Linked DNA regions of Homo sapiens: region 1 is linked to region 2. The links are contacts of gene promoters, found by promoter capture Hi-C in blood cells and fetal thymus (Javierre and others, 2016). All regions are on one chromosome and are shown on one strand. Each heading gives the region's core, a stretch centred on a gene start or on the middle of the fragment in contact. The rest is flanking DNA. Distances are from core to core; before and after follow the strand shown.

Evidence for each region. Contacts are between HindIII fragments. The CHiCAGO score rates a contact against its expected background, and 5 or more counts as called.
Region 1: a contact is called between a fragment that was not itself captured here and the fragment with the promoter of CORO6 in region 2, in 4 of 17 cell types (M1 macrophages, endothelial precursors, activated CD4 T cells and 1 more). The highest score is 5.9, in M1 macrophages.

What each region holds. Positions count from the first base shown.
Region 1 is chr17:29,745,155-29,749,343 of GRCh38, forward strand. All of the region lies in intron 3 of SSH2 (slingshot protein phosphatase 2), which reads right to left. Among named protein-coding and RNA genes, the nearest start is that of SSH2-AS1, 110 kb to the left of the region's middle. The HindIII fragment of the contact is 1,464 bases long and covers 2,130-3,593 here.
Region 2 is chr17:29,621,259-29,625,383 of GRCh38, forward strand. CORO6 (coronin 6) reads right to left here and starts at 1,654. Exons shown (of 11, transcript NM_032854.4): 1 at 1,430-1,654; 2 at 1-226. The coding sequence starts at 163. RefSeq lists a silencer at 1,318-1,467 and an enhancer at 2,255-3,454. The HindIII fragment of the contact is 1,950 bases long and covers 465-2,414 here.

The DNA.
Region 1 (4,189 bases), core at 1,612-4,111, 130 kb after region 2:
TTCGTTTTTCTTTTTTTTTTTTTGAAACAGAGTCTTTTTCTGTCACCTAGGCTGGAGTGCAGTGGCAGGATCTCAGCTCACTGCAACCTCTGCCTCCTGGGTTCAAGCGATTCTCATGCTTCAGCCTCCCGAGTAGCGGGGATTACAGGCGCCCATCACCACACCCGGCTAATTTTTGTATTTTTAGTAGAGACGGGGTTTCACCATGTTGGCCAGGCTGGTCTTGAACTCCTGAACTCAAGTGACCCGCCTGCCTCGGCCTCTGAAAGTGCTGGGATTACAGGCGTGAGCCACCGCACCCAGCTACAATGATACCCTTCTGTTCTCTGAATTTCTAAAGCACAAATTGTACTGTTCATCTGACACTTACCATGCAATAAATTGTGCTCTTATTTATCCCTTCATTGACGTCTTATTTCCTCAACAAACTGAGTATCCTGTCTTCAGGAACCATGTCTTGTACTTCTTTTTTATCTCTTACTTCTTACACAGAATAGATGCAATTTAGGATAATGATGGAAATGACAGAATGTTTACCATCATGCTAGTGTGCCACTCTAATTATTTCTCCTATAATTTGGCTCATATCAAAAGAGCAAAATGAGCAAAAATTTAAGCTACCATATCGTATTTAATCCTCATAGGTATTATAAGTTCCATTTTACTGATGAGGAAAAAGGTTTAGGGTGATTATATAATATGTTCAAAGTCACACAGATAATAAATGATGAACTCTGGAGCTCAGGTCCATTTCATTTCAAACACTGCACTATTACTGTTAGGTACAATAACAAATGGCAAGTAGTTATTCTGAATATGTGACCCAATAAATCTTTTAAGAGTTTTTAAAGAGAATGTTTAAGGAACGGGATACTTTAAGAATTAAGTGTGAGATTTTATTGAGGAGGGAAGGGCATCACAGAGGTAGGATTAACACAATGATAGATATCAAGTCTGTTCAAAGGGACTTCAAAGAGGTTCAGTTTTATTTGTTGTTTGAATCCATTTATTTCACTCATCTCTTAGGAAGAGAGATTTACATTGAGAATTCACATCCTGCCACAGAAACCCCAACTTTTCAAACTAAAGCTCCCCCTAAAAATAGATGAGGCCAGGTGCAATGTCTCATGCCTGTAATCCTAGCACTTTGGGAGGCTGAGGTAGGCAGATCACCTGAGGTCAGGAGTTCAACACCAGCTTTGCCAACATAGCGAAACTCCGCCTCTACTAAAAAAAAACAAAAATTAGCCGGGTGTGGTGGTGGACGCCTGTAATCCCAGCTACTAGGGAGGCTGAGGCAGGAGAATCCCTTGAACCCGGGAGGCGGAGGTTGCAGTGAGCCAAGATCATACCACTGCACTCCAGCCTGGGCGACAGAGTGAGACTCTGTCTCAAAAAAAAAAAAAAAAAAAAAAAAAGGAAAAAAGAGAGATGATACAATTATGGGAAATTAAAACTTTTGATGTTCATGAGAACTGTGTATATTAACATTAAGAGAAAGAGTAACTTAAAAGGGACGTGGGTCAGAGGAGAGTCCTGAAGAAATGGCATCTCCCAAGAGCTCTGTTGTAAGTGATATTTATTTAAAATCAGAGGAAAAAAACTCTCATTCAATTTAGCCCTCATGGAGACTAACTGGTTTTTATGACACAAAATTCAGAGAACAGCAGAGACAAAAATGCACCAATAAGATGCCAAGCTCATAAACCTGACCAGCTTTTTGCTGGGGTGATGAAGTATGCTTAAAGTGTTGCTTAAGTTGCAAACAGATAAAGCCATATGTAGCATAAACTTTTCCGCAGTCACTACAGAAGACAATCAATATAAAGTCCACAATTAGAACGCTCAGGACTTGAAATATCCTGTTATGGATCACGAATATCCATGTAAATTTTGATGGATAAATATTAAGTACAGATGATAAAAGTAACAACCATAACTGGAATTTTTATTGTTATTTCTTGTGAATAATTATCTCACGTGATATCCAAAATGTCCTGAAATGAGGCAGGTACCATCCTCAAACAAACATATACAACAATTTAAATAGTTTAGTTCATTACCAAAAAAAATCAAATAATTCTACTTCTTCTACCCTGGAAACCTAAATTGTTACAACTTTTAAAGAAAGCTTATAATTGGCTAATACTGAGGCTTCTCTTTATTTAGGAGTGATTCAAACCTCTGGATTTTGTAGCTTTACCAAGTGTAACTAAGCCAAATCCCTCGAATTACTAAAAGAGGGGTTATACCCCTCTAAAAATAGATTAATGCAGAAAACACAAGTTGTTAAATTCACACAACATGCAAAAAGGGTGAGCCCAGATTTGCCCTTTGGTGTGCAACAAGAACAATCTATTTATAAATTACTGGCTACACCCTTTCCAAATTACAGGAACACCTAAAAAGGCCTTGATGTTCTTAGCATATTTCTTTAAGGTAAACTTAATTATGTTAGTTATACAGCAACCATCCTGTATCATTCAACGATGCAAAGCTAACTCTAACCCTAACTAAAAATAGGATACTGATTTTTTCTTTCCACCTTAGAAATTGTAAAGTATGTGAAAGATTCAGAAATTGTGTGATAACATCTACATCACTGTTCTTTAGCCCCAAGGCAGTTTAACATATGGTAGATTAAGAGGACTCCCATTTACTGGAAGGACCCAAGAGCAGATGGGAGCAAGATGATCTACAGCAGTTTCAGCCTCTCTATTATTGCGAGACCCAACAGCTCTTGGAAACAGAGACTGACAACATCTTTAGTTATTTGGCTTTGGGCAGTGTTTATCAGTGTTAAGTCTAGAGACACTTTCCAATTTCAGGAGTAAATATAGGTGAGCACAAAGGCAAATAGTAGTAGTTTAGAAAAAAAAAGAAATCCATTCTAGACTTATCAAAAAGAAATCTTGACTTGAGCACATCACTACCTTACCATTCCTGTTCATCTTCATTGTGCAGATTTACTTCTCAGTTAACTTGGCTAAGCATGATTCCAAGAAAGCCAAAGTTGAGAGCTCTTTTTTTATACCCCTCAGTTATAGGTTAATTACTGCTCTGCTGATTTTAAACAATCACAAGGGTGGATAAAGCCACAGAAAGTTACCACCAATAATAAAAACACAAATGCATCTTTATACTTTGACAGGGGATCATTAACTGTTCTTTCACATTTGAAGGCCATAACACCCAGAAGATTCACTAGATGTAAACCAATTTGATCACTTTCTTAAAAATACTAAATTTTAAGGCTATATTCTCTAAGGATCAAAAATAACCACAAAAAGTCAGTATTAATTTAAAATCAAAGAGGCATCTCGTACCTCTCTTAAATATTAATATTAGTCTCTTTATCCACCAAAAAGAGAAAAAAAAAGCCCTTAAACCATAAATGAATGCCTGGTTTCAATTACTCAATTATCAATTATTCAGTTATGCTTGCCCATTTCTGTAGAAGACAAGATCTAGATTTTAAGAGCATCACAGATGATAATTATATTTATTCAATGCAAACATGGAAATTTAAAAATGTGAGTGGTAAAAAAAATTCATAAAATAAAAAATACTTGGAATAAAACTTCTTGGTTCTAAGCTTTAAAATACAGATAATCCTACTACAGAGCTGTTTCAGAGCACAGAAAAAAATGAAAAACTACCCAAATCATTCTGTAAATCAGACATAAGCTGGACGAAGACAGCAAAGATTCAATAAATATTTAGATCCCTAAATGCAAAACCTTAAATATTTGTAAACCAAGCCTAGCAATATGTTAAATGAATAACGCAAAAAGGGTGTAGTTCAGTTATGTAAGGATGATTCAACTTCAATAATTCAATGTGTCATTACATTAGCAGTAAAGGGGAAAATATTATTCCGTAGATATAAAAAAGCAGTCAGTAAAATTCAACTATACCTAACTGAAAAATCTTTGTAAATTAGCAATAGTAAGAAATGGCCTCAGCTTGATAAATGATCTGTGCCAGAACCTACACCACACAGTATACTCATTTACAACACATAAGAAGCCTTCTTTTCACACAAGCCCACTAGTATCGCACTACTTAACATTAGAAGGCCTAACCAAAGCAATGAGAGTTATAAATACAGTCATGCATCACTTAATGACAGGAATACATTCTGAGAAATTCATCATTAGGCAAGTTTATCATTGCGTGAACATCATAG
Region 2 (4,125 bases), core at 404-2,903:
CTCCAGCCTCCACAATAATGGCCAGGAATTTGGGGTTGACGGCACAGAAGGAGCTGTCCCATGTGACCTTGGACACACGGATGTCCTCGTAGGCCTGGTCGGCCTTTGCTGCCTGCCCAAACACATGGCGGAACTTGCTTTGCCGAACCACACGTCTGCTCATAGCTGCAGGCAGAGAGGTAGGATCTCAGTGCCCAGAAATGCCTTTGGTCCTTAGTCCTGTGAGCTGCGGGAGGGAGGAGGAGTGGAGGGGTGGCTGATGAGAAGGGTTATGTGGTCAGGAGTCAGGTATAAATCCATATAGTGTCTGGTCCTAGAAGCAGGGAGCTTTCTTCAAGGTGGTCAAAGTATGGGAAAGTTATTTTGCTGTGTAAAATGCTGTTTAATGTAAGTGGCTAGGATTTGGGGCCTGAATTCTCCACAGAGACCCAGGCTGAGGGGATTGTGGAGCCTAACAGACTGAAAGCTTTCTGGACGTTGGAATGTTTTTGGGAGGAGCCTCAATGCCACACTGCCTGCACCCCCCGCCCCCACCACCGCCAGCCTTGATGAGCATCTCTTCACGGACGTGGTTGTAGCTCCCAGAGGCACCCTGTCCAGAAGCAGAAGACTTGACCATTGGATCTTGGCTTAAAGCCAGGTATGGGGCCAAGACTGCAGCCACCACAGGATACCGAACTCGCATCTCTGGAATAGTTCAGGCAGATGGGGTTTTGCCTTTTCCTAAAATTTTGCCAAGGGGGAAGTTCCTCCTGTCCACCAATCTGAGTCCTTTCTGCTACTGTTTTCATCCCATGCCTTGTGGGGGGACGGGTGGCAGCACAGAGTGAGGTGGATCCCTCTTCTCCCACTCCTTTCTGCACTGGCTTCTCCAGGAAGCCCTGATCATGGTCTTCTGGCTTTTGCCTACCATAGGCTTGTCCGGTTTCTCCTCTGGGTCCTCTGCCCTGGTTGGGCCTTCTTCCTAGTGAACTCTTCTAGGGGTGGGGTCTTCAACCCCATCCTCCACCCCTGCCCCCGCCACGGCCAAGCCAGATTTGCAGGGGTGGGGAGGGTGAGGTGCCTTTTCTCCAGCTAGGGTCTCCCTAGAGGACACACTGAGCACTCCCAAAGCCCCAGCCAGTGGCTCCTGCCCCACCCCAGCCCCAGCATCCGTGTGCCCTTCAAGGCGCGTCTGCGGCCCCGAGCCTGAGGCCCGGCCTCCCTGCACCCTTCTTCAGCCTGCTGCCCTGACACTGCGTTCTTGCGAGACGAGGTGTCTGCGCCCTCCGGGAGCGCTGGCTGCTGTCCGGCCAAATATAGACACCACGTCCTCCCCGCCCGAAACCGAATTTGGCGGCGCGGGGGGAGGAGGCGCAGACCTCTGCCCCTCAGGGACCCCGCCCGCTCCGCTGGCTGCGGTGACGGCCGGGTGTGGGGGGCTGGGTACCTGGTCCTGAGCGGGCTGCGGGGCGCTCACGCTGCGAATCCTCTGCGGAAGGGGCCCGAGTGCGTAGGGGGCCGAGGAAGGCTTCAGGGCGAAGGAGCCACCTCTCCGGGTGTCTGTAGTATCTGGGACCCGGGTGTCCAGCTCCGCACTCTGGCCGATCCTGCGGCTCTCTAGAGCCCGGCGCCGCTGCAGCCCCAGCTGCCGCTGCCATCAACCTAAGAGGGCGGGGCTAGCATAGGGGCGGGGCCAGAGCCCAAGTTGCCCCGCCCCCTCCAGCGGCGGGAAAGTCGAGCGACCCCGACTCCCCTCCCAGCTTCCGCCGGCCTCGGAGAACCATCGAAAATAAATGTGCAGCTGTGTGCTAGGTGCGCACGCTGCTTCCCTCCCTCCATGACTCCCGGGTAGGCTGGGGAGGCTCGGGTTCGCAGACCTAGAGCAGGACGCTTGGAGAGGGAACGGGCGAGGGGGCGTGCGCCCCTAGAGCGGGCAGCCGAGGGAGACCAGGTGCCTCCACCCGCATTCCAGCCTCAATCGCGCTCCCAATTTAGCTGTCCCGATCGGCCGGGACTGCGGGACTGCACTTCCAGGCCTCCCTGGGGGAAAGAGGCCCTAGAGAATGAGGACCCAGGCTGATCCTGATGTAGGGCAAGTGAGAGGGCACCCGACACAGGGTTGTGAATGTTAGTTATTGTTATGAATGGCAATAGCGATCATTTGAGAAACCTAAAATGCTGGCTGTGTGCTAGGCATTTCACCCCATTAGATGAGATTCCATGGAGCAGGGCAGGAAGCAGCTGAAAGAACAAGGGGAGGACCGAGTGTAAAGTGAACCCACCTTGACACTCCCTCCCCTCCCAGATGCAGGGGGAAGAGGCTAGCACCGGTCTCTAGTCACATTTTAGGGGTCAGAGAAGCCAACTCAGAGGCCAGACTCCTAATGTTTTCTGGGCCTTGTTTGAATTGGCGCCCGACTGTGTTCCAGGTAAGCTTCCCCCGTCTCCCCCAATATTCACAGAACTGAATGTTGACCGAGGTCAAGGAGATTAAAGATAACCTGATCAAAATACAGCCAGTGAAGACCAGCCAGTCCCGTAGCTCCAGTCTACCCAGTGTCTGCACATTGCCTGGATTTCTTCCCTTGGATCATAAGGGCATCTGGGGCCAGTTATTACTTCCCACCCTCCAGGGCACACCTGGGAGTGAGTGAATGGAACACAGCCTTCTGAAGGGCAGGAACCAGCACTGGGGAGGAAAGGGAGGGAAGGTGGTAGAAACCATGAAGGGCCCACGAGGCTCCTTTGTTTCTCAGGAAGAGTCCAGGTGGCTTGTAGGGACAGAATCAAATCAAGAGTCAGTGGCTTGTAGGGGAACAGAATAAAAAACTGTTACGAGTGCTCCAGAAATAACTCCTGGCGTAGGGGTGCTGGGGCAGGGTATGAGGGTATGTGAGTCATCTCTCTTTTACCTAAAGATTCCAGGCACATGATTAGGAGGAAAATACCTGAGTGACTCAGTTGCTCCTTTACAACAATAACCCATGCTTATGTGCTAGGCACTGGCACTAAGGGCTTTATACGTATTAATTTCATACTCTTAACAATCCTCTAGGCTGGTCGCGGGTGGCTAACGCCTGTAATCCCAGCACTTTGGGAGGCTGAGGCAGGTGGATCACCTGAGGTCAGGAGTTCGAGACCAGCCTGGCCAACATGGCAAAACCCCATCTCTACTAAAAATACAAAAATTTGCCAGGTGTGGTGATGCACACCTGTAATCCCAGCTACTCAGGAGGCTGAGACACGAGAATTGCTTGAACCTAGGAGGCAGAGGTTGCAGTGAGCTGAGATCATGCCACTGCCCTCCAGCCTGGGTGACAGAATGAGACTCTGTCTCAAATAAAACACACGCACAAAAAACCAAAAAACAATCCTCTAAGGTGGGTACTGTTGTTATCCCTATTTAACAGTTGAGGAAATGGAGCCACAAAGAGGTTAGGTGGCTTACCCATCACAACCTCAACTGGTAGTTGATGTAGCTATGATTCTTACCCACGTGGTCTGGCATCTGGTTCTTGCTTTTCAGCAGCATGCATTTCTGTCTCTCCCTGAAGGACAGTGCCACTTTATCTCACAAGTGCTGAGCTAAAACGTAACTGAGAGTTTATACTGTGTGGCACAGAGGAAAGGATGCCTGGAATGAATTAAAAAACTGGTTCCAGTCCTGGCTCAATCGCCATATTTTTACAGCTCTCTGAACAGGATTGGGTCAGATTCTTTCCAACTCTGCACCACTCCTTAGCAGAGTAGGGATTTTATGTGCTGCCTCCTCTGAAGTGGCATCTCCCCTACCCCCACCCTCCTTCTCTTTAAAGAGAACAGGAGACTCCCTTCTAGAGGGAAGCGCTTGGGACTAGGAAGCAGGAATCCTTCAATGCGTGCTCCCTTCAGTTCCATCATCTAGGAAGAGCAGTGCTTTCTGGGTACAGGGATTCAGATATTTGCTTGGGCCTGGCGTAGCTCAGCCCTGCCCTCTAGCCTTCTTCTGGCTGCCAAGGCCTGACAGAGCTGTGAGTGGGCAGAGTTAAGGCAGGAAGAACCAATCAGGGAGAGAAGCTACTTGGGCTTCGTGCCTCCCTTTTGAACTGTTAGCTCTGAACGGCAATCCATAGAAGACAGCCATGGATTTCATCTTTTAGGAAG